5 separate regions of the Homo sapiens genome follow, and regions 2, 3, 4 and 5 are each linked to region 1. Evidence: promoter capture Hi-C in 16 types of primary human blood cells and fetal thymus (Javierre and others, 2016). All regions are on one chromosome and are shown on one strand. Each heading gives the region's core, a stretch centred on a gene start or on the middle of the fragment in contact. The rest is flanking DNA. Distances are from core to core; before and after follow the strand shown. Region 1 holds the start of TIAM1-AS1 (TIAM1 antisense RNA 1). Region 2 overlaps TIAM1 (TIAM Rac1 associated GEF 1). Region 3 has its middle 37 kb from the start of TIAM1. Region 4 has its middle 54 kb from the start of TIAM1. Region 5 has its middle 75 kb from the start of TIAM1.

Region 1 (2,793 bases), core at 141-2,640:
GGGTGAGTGTGGCCGAGTCGGCGCCCCGAGGGCCGCCAGCCTGGACCCCAGGCTGGGACACGGGCGCCCCCGGGTGCAGGGGACCTAGAGGCGCCGTGCGCGGCGGGGGCTGGGCGCGAAGGCGCCGAGACGGCATCTTTCCCCTGCAGCATCCCGCCCCGCGGCCGGGGGGAGGGGGCGTCACCTGACAGCGCGCAACAACTTCTCCAGGTTTCGAGGGGGCAAGCGGCAGCCGCCGGGGCTGGGGGGCGCACGGCGCGCTGCTCTCGCCCAATGGCGAGGTCTGTAAACAAAAGCGGGCCCCACGCGGGTCCCCAGCCGGGTGGCGAGGGGCGCGGCGCAGCAGCATCGCAGCGGCAGAGCTGGTGAGAGGGCGAGGCGGGGACGGGATAGGGCGCGGGGACCCAGGGCACAGTCCCCGGGACCCGACCGCCCGGATGAGGCATTGTCTGCGCACCCGCAGGATTCCGCTTTTAATGCCCCCCTCCGGGGGTTCGTCGCGGGTCCCCAGCTCCGTGCGCCGGCCCCCGGGCTTTCCGCCCGGTGAGCCCGGCCCCGAGGGCGGCACGGATCGCCAAGGTGAGCGCCCAGGACGCGTCGCCGAAAAGCCAGGCCCGGAGGTGCCTAAGTCAGGGACCGAGACGCAAACATAGACACAAGGATGCACAAGCACGCCCTCCCCGAAGTTGACAAAAATCAGCCGATAAAATACAAAGTGCCGCGGCCGCCGCAGGTCAGCGCTGACCTCCTGCTGCCGAGAGGACCGAATGCCGACGTCCGGACGCTGTCATTTCCATCCAGCGAAGGCACCTGGGCTGCACGGTCTCGTCTCCCTCCTTCGCGCGAGGGATGCCTCCTCCTGCCTCTCCTCCCCGCATCTCCCCACCTCCCAAGTGTGTGAACACGAAAACAATACGTGGAAAGCCCGATCGGGGGGAGCTAGGACCCGCCGGGAGCCCCAGTGTGCGGGAGACGGGGGTCAGAACGTGCCCGGCACGGGCACCGAGGCTCCGGGCATCCTCGCCGCCGTCTCCCGGGGCGGCTCCGGCCGGACGCCCGCGCACCCCAGGCCCGCGGTACTCACCCGCGACGGTCGTCCGGGATCTCCGCGACGGGGCCGGGCACGATGCGGGGCAGCCGTGCCCCTGGGGCTGCGGGCGCCAAGGCGTCCGCGGAGCTGCAGAGCTGCGCGCCCGACGGCGGCGGCGCTGCTCTGCCGGCCGCGCTCGAACCCGCTCGTGGTCTGCCAATCGGAGCTGTCAGGGCCCCTCCGCCTGCGGCCTCGGGGGCCGGGCCGCGGGAGCCCGTGGGAAACCGAGCTCCGATTGGGCCGCCTGACAATCGCTCCGCCTCCGGCCAGCCAATCCGAGGCGGTGGATGCAGGAGCGGGGCGTTCGGAGTTGGGCTGTAGAGCGACTATGGGCGCACGCCGGGTATCCGCGCCGCAGCCAGGCTCGGAGCGCGCGGCTGGAGGGGCGCGGGCGGCGCGCGCTCCAGAGATGCCTTCCTGCGAGGCTCCGTCAGCGCGGCCCGGGGAGATCGCCCGCAGGCAGCGGAGGCGCGGCGGGCCGGGGGACGACCAGGGAGCCCCTAACAAAGCAGCTTTGGGAGGGCCGGAGGCCTCTGCCTCCCTCGGCGATAGGTCCGCGAAGCTGCCTGTCATCTCGCATAGGTGGAGGTGGCCAATGGCGTGCACAGACGGAGCTCTAGTTGGCGCGCGCGCGCGGCTCGGCATCGGTGGGATTGGTCGGAGGTAAAGGATTTTCCTGCCACCTAAGGCGGAGAGGAAGGGGGATCGAAACGGGGGAGGCGAAGAGTCAAAAAATGTTGTGCCTGGGACAAGTGGTCTGGCGCGGGAGGCGTGTGCCTGGCTCTAGGGGGAGACAGGAACTTTTTTACGAGAGAAAAAAATCCTAACGCAATCCCTTCCCGTGGATGCTAGAGGATGTTAGACCCTGAGCAGCCTCCAGGTAGGGCATGGTGGCCTTCACCAGAGTCCAGGACTCCCAGGGTTCACTTACCGTGCCCAGCAAGCGAACTTGGAATAACAGCGTGGGGTTTGGGCCTTACGCTTACCTGCTGGGCAGAGTAAGTGACTCGGGCAGGGTTCACGCAGACCTCCTGGGCTCCTCTGTAAAATCCGGAAACTACAGTTGCAGTTTACCTCTCGCAAGGTTGTGGAGAACGCGGAAACGGAGACGCTGGCGGTACAGCCTCGAGCGAAACCTTTCCCTACACGAGGCCGGAGCTTCCTCCTCTCCTGAAGAGCTCTAGACTTCCCCATTTACAACAAAGGCTGGGATGTATGTTCCTTACACCTTGATTCCATACACACGTGTTCGCCCCGGGAGCTGGGAAGGTCTGCGCTCCCGGGGTGATCTTGTTGAAAACAAAAAGAATTGCCCACGCTGTGGAAGATAAACCTAAACCGGAAAATTGAAAGTCATCCCTGATTCCTCCTTCTTCTTAACCCTCTCCCATCCATTTTTGTTAACCTCCCAAACCCATTCCTCCCATCCTGTCTCACCTGGACCTCAGTAAAGGGCTCCCATCGTCCTTCTGTCCCAGGCCTTGCCCCCTGAAATCTGTTCTCCACTTTGCAGAATGATCCTTCTAAGCAGAAAAATCTCATTTTGCGCTCCCAACTCTGGGTCTCTTTTCTTTCCCCAGAACACGTCAACCCCCAGCCCCTCCCTTCACTTCACTAATTCCTACCCTTCTTCAGATCCCAGCTTGGCCGCCAAGGCATCCATGCAGTAGGCATTGCTGAACTACTGCTCTTACAGACCCCGG
Region 2 (2,793 bases), core at 104-2,603, 250 kb before region 1:
TGGAAATTTTATCAACGGCCAGTTGCTGAGAGAAAAGTGATTACGACATTTTCAAACTGGGGTTTTAACATGACTGAACCCCTCCTGAGTCTTTTAATAATTTGTATGAGAATTTGCCTGGAGGCGCAGAGCTACCCTTCTGTGCCAGTTTATGAATTCTAAACAGGCCTCATTTTTTCAATTTAGGCACAAAAACAATTCTCCCTAAAACCTCCAGGAAAAAAAAATGTCTATGGCTTATTTAACCCAATCTAACTACAAGATATACTTTTTTTAAAAACGTGGTGACTGGAGCCAGAAGGTGTCTGCTCACGGGGGTGACTGCCATGGTGGTGTCAGAAGCCCCAAAGGGCAAGTCCCCCAGGGGAGGAACCGCCAGTGTCCTCACAATCCAGGCAGAGCACAGGATGGTGGCACACAACGAGACAGAGGAGCACACTTGAAGGGGTGCCTGCAGGCCAAATCAGGGACAATTTGAGTACCAAAATAAATAACAGAATGGCCTGGCAACCCACCAAGACCTCATCTCTACAAAAAATTTAAAAATAAGCCAGGCATGGTGACATGCACCTGTAGTCCCAGCTATTTAAGAGGCTGAAGGAGGAGGATTGCTCGAGCCCAGGAGTTTGAGGCTGTGGTGAGTTCTGATTGCACCACTGCACTCTGGCTTGGATGAAAGAGCAAGACCCTGTCTCTAAAAAAAAAAATCAATAAATAATACTACTAGCAGATTATAACCCACTGAATAAAATAGGAAACTACAAGTCCATATAGAGAGAAATAAAATTGGAAATCTGATGAGAAAGAAGAGACTTATATAATTTCAAAGTATCCCCCCACAAAACATTTACTAACATTTCTTTCCTTCACAAAGAGGAAAATAATAACTTCACAACTGGGAAGGCTGGCAATGCTGTCTTAACCAAGTGGCCAAGGTGAGTAGACAGCATCAGAAGTAGGACAGGCCAACTTCGGGAGCACTCAGAGAACACACAGGAGGAGGACACCCTACATCGTGGCCTGTGATGTGTCTGCCAGTGATGCAACGATCCAATGTGGAGTGAATCGTGAGAAAACATCTGGGCAAACCAAACTGAGGGGCATTCTACACAACAACTTGCCTGGACTCTTCCAAAGTATCAACGTTGTAAGTCCAGGAAAGACTGTGCAACTGTTCCTGACTGAAGGAGTCTAAAGACACGAGACAATCACGGGCAAGGCATGATCCTCCACTGGAAACCTTCGCCGTTTTCCAGCGCCCCGATTGACTGGCAGGAATGGGTCAGCTCATGCTGTGACTCTGACCCCTGTATGGTGGCTGTATAGAACAGTTGCCTTGAAAAACACTAATGTCTTTGGTAAGAGCCAAAGACATTTGGTACTCTCGAATGATTTAGAGAAAATAAAATTCTTCATACTGCATTGCATCGCCAACTTTTCTAGAAGTTTGTGTCAATTTCAAAACAAAAACAAAATCTCAAACCCGACGGCTGATTTATTCTTAGTTATGTATACAGGTGAAAACAGATATGGATAACTGATATAATGGAATGAGGCACAAATTACCACATCACTTATTCTACTAATGTGAGAATTAATGACAATGTATAAAATTTGCTAATTTTGTATTAGAAAAAACAAAAGGCCCTTTAGCCACATGGGTTAATGTGCTCTTCTTGTCCTCACCAGAGTATCCACACCCTCAGCCAGCAGGTTGTGCAAATTCAGGGCTTTGCTCTGTCTTTTCATGCCAAGCCACTCTTATGACCATTACCAACCCTCTGAGTACACGGAGGGCTAAGAAACACCTCCTGCATCCAAGAGTCCCAGGACACCATCCAGAACACGGCCAGAACTAAGGAACCAAATAGGAATCCTTGTCAGGTCTTCTGCTTTCAAAGGCCATGCTGTCACAGACTGAACAAACACATGGGTTCTAGTCCCGGATCTACCCCGGAGAACTCTGTGGCAGTATCACACTGGGCCTTGGTTTTGCTATCTGGAAATTGGGGAGGTGGGTGCGATCATCTAATTCTGATCAACCCCACCAGCATTTAATAAAGGTCTCCCCTTTTGCCAGGTCCTGGTTCTGTCTTCAAGGAGCTCAAGTCTAGCAAGGAGGGGCTTGCAAACAGATGCCTCTGGACAAGTGAGGGGTAAGGGGAGAGGGGCCATTATCTCATTAGACGGTACAGGCTCCATCCTGTTCAGGAAGAAGACACTGGAGAGGAGGGAAGGTTACAGGAAGATGGAGAATCTCAGTTGAATTTACAAGATAAAAAATAGAGGTTTCCCTAAGTGAAATAAAAGGATGGGGAGAAGAGAGCCAAGTTAATTCAATCAGAGTCAATACTATACAATGGGCTGGGTGCGGCAGCTCACACCTGTAATCCTAGCATTTTGGGAGGCCAAGGCAGGCAGATCACTTGAGAAACGAAATCGGAATCCCTGTCAGGGTTCAAGACCAGCCTGGGTAACATGGCAAAACCTCATCTCTACAAAAACTACAAAAATTAGTTGGGCGTGGTGGTGTGCACCTGTAGACCCAGCTATTCGGGAGGCTAAAGTAGGAGGACTGATTGAGCCTAGGAGGTGGAAGTTGCAGTGAGCTAAGATCGCGCCACTGCACTCCAGCCTGGGAGATGGAGTGAAATGTCATCTCAAAACAAAAAACTAAAAGCTGCACAATGGTTCGTCTGCATGACCTTAGGCAAGGTAGGTAACCTCCGTCTCATTTCCTCGTTTGTATAAGGAAGATAATGGCATTATCTAACTCATCCTTGGGAGGAGGGT
Region 3 (2,793 bases), core at 112-2,611, 180 kb before region 1:
CATGACCAACATGGTGAAACCCTGTCTCTACTAAAAATACAAAAAATTGGCCAGGCATGGTGGTGCACACCTGTAATCTCAGCTACTCGGGAGGCTGGGCATGAGAATCGCTTGAACCTGAGAGGTGGAGGTTGCAGTTGGAGCACGCCACCGCACTCTAGCCTGAGCGAAATAGTGAGACTTTGTCTCAAACAATAAATGTTAAGTGGCTCACGCTGTAATCCCAGCACTTTGGGAGGCCGAGGTGGGTGGATCACTTGAGGTCAGGAGTTCGAGACCAGCCTGTCCAACATGGTGAAACCCTGTCTCTACTAAAAATACAAAGTTAGCTGGGTGTGGTGGCACATGCCGGTAATCTCAGTTACTTGGGAGGCTGAGGCAGGAGAATCACTTGAATCCAGGAGGCGGAGGATGCAGTGAGCTGAGATCACACCATTGCACTCCAGCCTGGGCAACAAGAGCGAAATTCCATCTCAAAAAAATAAAGTAATATAATATAAAGTAAAGTAAATATAAAAATAAAAAAATTATGGAAGTGTACATTTTAAATGGATGATTCGAAAGGGGTATGAATTATAGTTCAATAAAGCTGTTTTTTAAAAAATCCATCAGAGGATAATTAATCTATTACCACAGTATAAAGAAAAGGAATAGACTCAATACCCTACTTTTTTTAGTTCATTAAAATGTGGGTCAAAATCCTAAATTTAACATATCCACAATGTTCATAAAGCAGTTTATATAGTTAATTCCATATAATTTGCATTGTACCGGATCGGTTAGGGACAGGGGCTTTAGAATAAAACTAGGTTTAAGTCCCAACCCCTTCACTCACATGTTGAATGACCTGGGATCCTCCCCCAAGCCCCAGCTTCTCTATAGGTAAAATGAGGAAAATAATAGTGCTTCTTTCACCGATGAGTGAGTACCTGACACAGTGCAGCACTCAAACAGTAACTTTATAAGTAAATAAATAACAACAACAAAACCAAGTACTTGTGTGCAATATACTAAACCTTGCTAGAAGACACAGATAATACAGTCCCTTTCTTCTATTAGATTATGACACCAAGCTGACTGTTTAGTGCTGCAATAATAAGAATGCTATGGACTGAACATCTGTGTCCCCGCAAAATCCGTATGTTGAAATTCTAATCCCTAAGGTGATGGTATTTGGAGGTGGGGCCTTTGCGGGGTGATTAGACATGAGTGGAGCCCTCATGAATGGTATTAGTGCTCTTATAAGAAGAGACACTACCAGCCTAGACAACATGCTGAAACCCCACCTCTACAAAAAATAGACAAAATTAGCCAGGCAGCCGGGCACAGTGGCTCACACCTGTAATCCTGGCACTTTGGGAGGCCGTGGCAGGTGGATCACTTGAGGCCAGGAGTTCGGGACCAGCCTGGCCAACATGGTGAATCCCTGTCTCTACTAAAAATACAAAAATTAGCTGGGCATGATGGTACACGCCTGTACTCCCAGCTACTCGAGAGGCTGAGGAACAGGAATCACTTGAACATGGGAGGCGGAGGTTGCAGTGAGCTGAGATCACGCCACTGCACTCCAGCCTGGGCAACAGAGTGAGACTCTGTCTCAAAGAAAACAAAAAAATAGCCAGACATGGTGGTGTACACCTGTAGTCCCAGCTATTTGGGAGGCTGTGGTGGGAGCATCACCTGAGGCTGGGAGGTCGAGGCTGCAGTGAGCCATGATCACACCATTGCACTCCAGTCTGGGTGACAGAGTAAGACCCTGTCTCAAAAATAAAAAACAAAAAGAACAGACACTAGAGACATCCTCTCTCTCTGCCATGTCAGGATATATATAGAGAGAGGCTGTCTTCAAACCAGGAACCCAATCATCAGGGACCTTGGTCTTGGACTTCCTCACCTTCAGAACTGTGAGAAATAAATGTTTGTTGATTAAGCTGCCCAGTTTGTGGTATTTCACTATAGCAGTTCAAACTGCCTAAGACAAAGACCAATAAAGCATTATGAGGAGAGACTTGTGCAGAAGACATTTAAACTGGGTCAAGCAGAAATTCTTGAATTAGAGAATGAAAAGAGGGAAGGAAAGGAACAAAATGATAAGCACATCTCCCATGCAATATGCTTTTGCTAACTCTTATCCAAACACCAGAGACCTCTGGGGCTAGATGTTTGAACGCTTATCAGCGCACTGTATATCCGTATGAAAAACCACAAGGTAACTAGAAACCATTGGCTAAAATCATAGGTGACAAAAGGCATGACTTGAGATTTACGCCGTGTCTAGAACATAAGGGCAGAAGAAAATAAAAAGCAGACAGATTAATTGTGTATTTTGACCAAGGTACAAGGATCAAATAGATACATTTCAATTTCCAATTTCCACATTTCTGATCATTAGCTACCACACTCCTATGTATCTCATGAAAGAAAGCAAGAAATGAATTATCTCAGAGCCAAACAACCTCCTGACAACTCTTTGATCTGTTTTTTTCCGAAAGACTGACTACCTCCAATGACACTGCTCTCTGAAAAGGCAATTAATGAGACGGATGTAGCACACTGAATGAGAGGATTGAAGTACCTATGCTTTTTCTTTTGACAGTTTATAAAACAGATTTTTTTAACATGTCAGTCAATTGGTGATATTTTAAATGAGATCACAAAAGTCAAGGTCTTTGCTACAAAAAACACGGCAAACAAACTAAAAAAATTAATGAAAGCATGTGATTCTAGTGTGAAACAACGACCCATGTGTCATTATTGGTTCAAGAAGTATGCTTTTATGCCTTCAATATGGAA
Region 4 (2,793 bases), core at 101-2,600, 160 kb before region 1:
TGGGCGGATCACTTGAGGTCAGGAGCTCAAGACCAGCCTGGCTTCACATGGTGAAACCCCACCTTTACTAAAAATACAAAAATTAGCCGGGCCTGGTAGCAGATGCCTGTAATCCGAGCTACTCAGGAGGCTGAGACAGGAGAATCACTTGAACCTGGGGTGGAGGTTGCAGTGAACCGAGATCGCGCCACTGCACTCCAGCCTGGGCGACAGAGTGAGACTCCGTCACACACACAAAAAAAATTTAAATAATATTTTATGCCCTTCCACTTTTCTAATAGTGGAAAGAAACCAAAGCAAAGGGATCCTTCGATCGCTGTGATATGATTGTATTTAAGCGAACAACATTCTAGCAAGACCTATATTCAGACCAGCCTGGAAGTGATAAAGTCTGTGTTCAACTTAGCAGCAGATCTTTAGATGTAACATCAAAGAGGTAATGAAAGGGAATTAGGATTTTTTAGGTATCTTTTATATTCTAAGCACTATGTTTGGCTCTGAAGAGATATGATCTCTTAACAAAGAACTATCATGCCCGTTTGTAAGTGTCATTTTATAAACAGCAAAAAACTGAGGCAGAGAAGTTGTTCAAAGTCACATATACAGCAAGTGCCAAATTCCTATACAGATCTTTTTGCATCCAAAAGCTCTAAGGGTCCATGTTTCAAACCGCTTCCTTCCTCTTTTCCTTTCTCTCCTCTTTTCCTCCCATTTTAATTCCTTTGAAAAAAATTCAGAAGTAGAAACCAATATACAAAAATCTTGATACCTGCCACCCAAAATGAACATTTCTAATTTAAATCATGAAAATCACATTGACCAAATCAGCTCCTGGTTTAAGTTGCCCAATATCCCCGCGCCAGAAATGAGATAACAGGACAAAGAGCTGGTGAAACCTCATTCAAATTACAATTTATGGCCATCCTTCCTGGCTTGGTGCCAACACGTTATGATCCAAATCTGTTAGGGGGAGTCTTCCCAGTCAAAGGCAGCTCTGTGTAAAACAAACCTCTCTATACAGAAAGAAACGCTTTCATTCCATTCCAGAAGTCAGAATGTGAAGATGCTGGGCTGCTTTCTGCCAGGGCAAAACGAAAGACATGGAAAACAGGGAAATGAGAAGGGACAGAGGCAACAGGTCTCACACTAACCATTTACAGATAACAAAGGAACTTCAGAATTCTTCCCTGCTACCTTGTAGAATGGATGAACCATGGAATACCTGATAAACTTCTAAGCAAGCTTCAGCCTGCCCCTGTGCAGATCTGCACAGACTCCAAGTACCTCCCACTGCCATGGGATGTACATGGACCAATGTGTTGGCTTCCCTTTGACCTCCCCCCTACAACCTCCCCCAACCTCCCCTCTGCACCAGCAGAATGGGACCCAGGGGCACAGGAAGTGCCTAATCTCTGCAAGCAAATGTCAATCTTCAGGGCAAAAAAAAAAAAAAAAAAAAAAGCTTTGTTCTTTAGAACCAGAGTTGAAACTAGGTTGAAATGACCACATCAATTCACTAACTTGAATTCACAAAGGAAGCACCTGTTTTCAGAAAGGCGTGTAAAATTGTAAAACAATCTTACTTTTTATGCCATCCTTCTGAATGAAGAACTGTGGATAAGCTGGGCCTGGGGGAGACCTGGTCAGTTTTCCCACACAGTGGTAATGGTTTGTGTTACTGAAGAAAATGTCAAAAATTTTTTCTTAAATAAACCACCACATAATTTTACTCCACTAAAAATGAGAAATAACATAGCCATGGGAAGTAGCCCACATCTTTTGTATTCTCCATCACACTTCAAATATCTAAACACCTGACCAAGCACATAAAGAAATGGTGGATGTGCTATCACTGCAAAATTCCAACTGTAGGCAGAAGTTTGCCATCCTCATAGCACAGTACACAGTTCCCAGACAGGAAAATTCTTTGTGCTCCCTCAGTAAAGGAGAAAAATTATGACCAATTACAATAACAAGGGCATTAGCCACTTTGATAAATATCTAAGCAGGCTTCCGTCTGTGCCTGGGCAGATATGGAGAACGATTTAGTGTGATATGAGAATACAGAGTTGATCACTTATCTTGTGAAACTGAAGAAGAAAGAGAAATGTAAACGTCAGCATCTCTTATCACCCAGGCTCTGACTCTTCTCAAACTATTAAAAATAGCCTTTGGGATGGGCCCGGTGGCTCACGCCTATAATCCCAGCACTTTGGGAGGCTGAGGCTGGCAGCTCACCTGAGGCCAGGAGTTCGAGACCAGCTTAGCCAACATGGAGAAACCCCATCTCCACTAAAAACATAAAATAAATAGATAAATAAAATAAAATAAAAATAGCCTTTGCCAGAAACTAAAAAGAAACAGCAAAGCCAAAATTAATTCCACAAGGCGGAATTGGTTGCTTTACTCATTTATACTATGTATAATAAAGAGTAATAAATTTCTATTATTATAAATCTTACTTTGACATTTTAGATATAACATCAATGCCCCCTGAGATATACTAAAATTTGTCTATAAAGCAAGGAAATTATTTTTTTTTAATATTGGCTTGGATAAGTTCTCTCTTTAAAATTTATATGAGAATATCCTTAAATACTTCGTGCCATTTCAAACCGATTTTGATTTAAGATATATTACAATCTATTAAAGTTTTAAAAATAATAAATTAACGTTTAGGTCAACTAAATTAAATAATTATATACAATACATTATTGCTTTAAATCCCAAGGCAAAGAAAGGAAATTGCTTCTTCAGGCTGACAGAATGAATTGTATGCATCCACTGTGGGGG
Region 5 (2,793 bases), core at 113-2,612, 140 kb before region 1:
CAGATCTCATGAGACTTACTACCATGAGAACAGTACGGGGGAAACCACCCCCATGATTCAATTATCTCCCACTGGGTCCCTCCCACAATACGTGAGAATTATGGGAGCTACAATTCAAGATGAGATTTGGGTGGGGACACAGCCAAACTATATCAGTGTCCTAACAAGCAAAAAGCAAGCACTTGCCATCAGGGACAGAAGAGAACAGATGTACACCTGCAGGTCAATTCCTGCCACACTCTACCTGTGCAGTCAGGGACATGGAGGTTTTCAACAGGATGACCAGGGACAGTCTCGCTGAAAAAGAAACATGACAGAACCCACACCTGAAGGGGGTACATTATGTAACTACCTGGGGAAGAGTGCTCCAGGTAGAGAGACACAGGACAAGAGGCTTGAGGCTGGCACTTGCCATATGAATGAGCAACAGCTGAGTGGAGAGAGAGAGAAATTGAAGATGGGAAGGGGCAGCTCAAGTCAGCCAGGAACCACTGTGAGCCCTTCAGTTTTTATTTCGGGGCAATTGGAAAGGCCCAAAAGGTACTGAGCAGAGTGACACTATCTGACTTTTAAAAAGGTGCCCTCTAGGCCAGGTGCGGTGGCTCATACCTGTAATCCCAGCACTTTGGCAGATCACTTGAGGTCAGGAGTTTGAGACCAGCCTGGCCAACATGGCGAAACCCCATCTCTACTGAAAGTACAAAAATTAGCAGGGCGTGGTGGCACACGCCTGTAATCCCAGCTACTCGGGAGGCTGAGACAGGAGAATCACTTGAACCCGGCAGGCGGAAGTTGAGGTGAGCCGAGATCACGCCACTGCACTCCAGCCTGGGCGACAGAGCGAGACTCTGTCTCAAAAAAAAAAAAAAAAAAAAAAAAAAAGTTGCCCTCTGGCTACTGTTTAGACACAGGGTGGTGGGAAGGCAAGAGAAAAAGCAGCATCCAAATGCAAATTAAACAGCTGCTGTTTTCAGGCAGGGACTGAAAACACCAGCTACCAACTTGGATTTAAGAAAATGGCCAAGGGTGTCCACTCTCCCCTACCCCGGTGGCTGCAGATACAAAGACCTGCAGCATCCTGGCGAGGGATGAAAGGAGAGCTCTCTGTAGTTTTTCAGGCCAACTCCACAGAAGCTATTAGAAAGGTTAGCAGTAAGTGCAGCCCAGCTTTAAACACAGGAGTTAGAGGGGTCACCTCAAATGAAAAGGAGACTGAGAGACAACCTTCTCTTGGGAGCTCCCCTGGAAACAGAGGAAAACACACCGCCAGAGAAGAAAGTCGCCCTGAAAATACCAGCGACACTGGACTTTGCACAGAATCAGCTTCAGAGAGAGGCCTTTTGCTGCAAGCAGGGTGGCGAGGCCTCTTAGAACTACCGTTTCTTTTACTGCAGTTGAAGGAAAGAAAAAGGAGTCAAGGTCACACACTCAGGTGGCTTTGAAGCCCAGCCCCCACCGAGCGGTCTAGCCCAGTAATCCTAGGTTGAAGATGTGTGCAAATTACTCTTCTCTGCACCTCCCATGGTCTCCACGAGATCTGCCGGGCACACCAGGGCTGGCCAGTGACCCTCCTGAAGGAGCTTCAGCTCTGGAATCAACTCAGCCTGAGACCCTGGTAACTAAACTCCTCCAACCTCCTCGCTTCTCCTCCAAAAATCGGTATTCAGTGAGATTCACGTATGAAGAGCACTCAGCACAAGGATGGTACTCAGCAAAGGGGAGTTATTATTGGGATCATTATTGCTAATTCTCTTCAGCTGCACATGAATGCGTGAGAAATTCATGTTAAGTAAAGTAAAATAATGGAAACATTCACTGGTACCATAAGCAATAGATGCATCATCATTAAACAATAGAGTGATAAAAACAGGACAGTGACGCACCTTGTAGAGCGATGTGTCATCTAAAACATCTATTCAAGGAACAGAAGACTCACCTTCAGTTAAATGCCATCCTCCCCAAGATCTTGATCCTTCGGAGATACAAAATCTTCAGCAACACTTACAAGTGAGCTGTTAATACTAGTATGTCCAGACGCTGATGACAGCATTTAAAACCCTCTTTCTGGACACTAATTCAGCAATAATATGCATTAGATGCGTTTAACAGTTTAAACTCTTTTTCCAGTAAATCTGTGTTTAAAATTTTTAATCTAAGGATGGAATAAAAGATACAAAGATTTACACACAAAGAAGTTAATACACCCCACAAGTAGAAAAACAAAAGTGGAAAACAAAATGATGAGCAAAAAGAAGCAATTAAATAAACTACATAACATCCTAGACTGAGCGTGGTGGCTTACACCTGTAATCCCAGCACTTTGGGAGGTCAAGGCGGGTGGATCACCTGAGGTCAGGAGTTCAAGACCAGCCTAGCCAACATGGTGAAACCCCGTCTCTACTAAAAATACAAAAATTATCCAAGCGTGGTGGCGCGTCTGTGGTCCCAGCTACTTGGGAGGCTGAGGCAGGAGAATCGCTTGAACCCGAGAGGTGGAGGCTGCAGCGAGCCAAGATCGTGCTATTGCACTCCAGCCTGGGCAACAAAAGCAAAACTCCGTCTCAAAAACTAAAAATAAAAAATAAATAAACTATATAACATCCTTATAAGAAACTTCTCTGCAATTTTTGAAAAAGCGACTTTAGGAAAAATATCTGTCAGGAGAACCTGAGCTACCTGAGAACCTAGCAAATGGGCAAGGTTGGATGAGATGCAATTTCCTGACTTTGCCACATAATAATAATGATATGTCATGGTATAGAAAACAAGCCTTGAAAGGGACAAAACAGCTCA

Evidence for each region. The method cuts DNA at HindIII sites, captures the fragments that hold promoters and counts their contacts. A CHiCAGO score of 5 or more calls a contact.
Region 2: a fragment that was not itself captured here is called in contact with the fragment with the promoter of TIAM1-AS1 in region 1 in 5 of 17 cell types (activated CD4 T cells, naive CD4 T cells, non-activated CD4 T cells and 2 more); the score reaches 15.4 in activated CD4 T cells.
Region 3: a contact is called between a fragment that was not itself captured here and the fragment with the promoter of TIAM1-AS1 in region 1, in 9 of 17 cell types (activated CD4 T cells, fetal thymus, naive CD4 T cells and 6 more). The highest score is 12.6, in activated CD4 T cells.
Region 4: a contact is called between a fragment that was not itself captured here and the fragment with the promoter of TIAM1-AS1 in region 1, in 3 of 17 cell types (fetal thymus, naive CD4 T cells and activated CD4 T cells). The highest score is 11.6, in fetal thymus.
Region 5: a fragment that was not itself captured here is called in contact with the fragment with the promoter of TIAM1-AS1 in region 1 in 2 of 17 cell types (activated CD4 T cells and fetal thymus); the score reaches 7.7 in activated CD4 T cells.

What each region holds. Positions count from the first base shown.
Region 1 is chr21:31,557,843-31,560,635 of GRCh38, forward strand. It overlaps TIAM1-AS1 (TIAM1 antisense RNA 1), which reads left to right and starts at 1,391. Exons shown (of 2, transcript NR_171013.1): 1 at 1,391-1,753; 2 at 2,175-2,645. It also overlaps a transcript of TIAM1 not described here. RefSeq lists enhancers at 1-204, 1,018-1,830 and a silencer at 1,110-1,739. The HindIII fragment of the contact is 6,855 bases long and covers 1-2,793 here.
Region 2 is chr21:31,305,589-31,308,381 of GRCh38, forward strand. All of the region lies in intron 2 of TIAM1 (TIAM Rac1 associated GEF 1), which reads right to left. Among named protein-coding and RNA genes, the nearest start is that of TIAM1, 37 kb to the right of the region's middle. The HindIII fragment of the contact is 5,166 bases long and covers 1-2,793 here.
Region 3 is chr21:31,380,069-31,382,861 of GRCh38, forward strand. It overlaps a transcript of TIAM1 not described here. Among named protein-coding and RNA genes, the nearest start is that of TIAM1, 37 kb to the left of the region's middle. The HindIII fragment of the contact is 3,733 bases long and covers 1-2,793 here.
Region 4 is chr21:31,396,720-31,399,512 of GRCh38, forward strand. It overlaps a transcript of TIAM1 not described here. Among named protein-coding and RNA genes, the nearest start is that of TIAM1, 54 kb to the left of the region's middle. The HindIII fragment of the contact is 220 bases long and covers 1,241-1,460 here.
Region 5 is chr21:31,417,487-31,420,279 of GRCh38, forward strand. It overlaps a transcript of TIAM1 not described here. Among named protein-coding and RNA genes, the nearest start is that of TIAM1, 75 kb to the left of the region's middle. The HindIII fragment of the contact is 5,634 bases long and covers 1-2,793 here.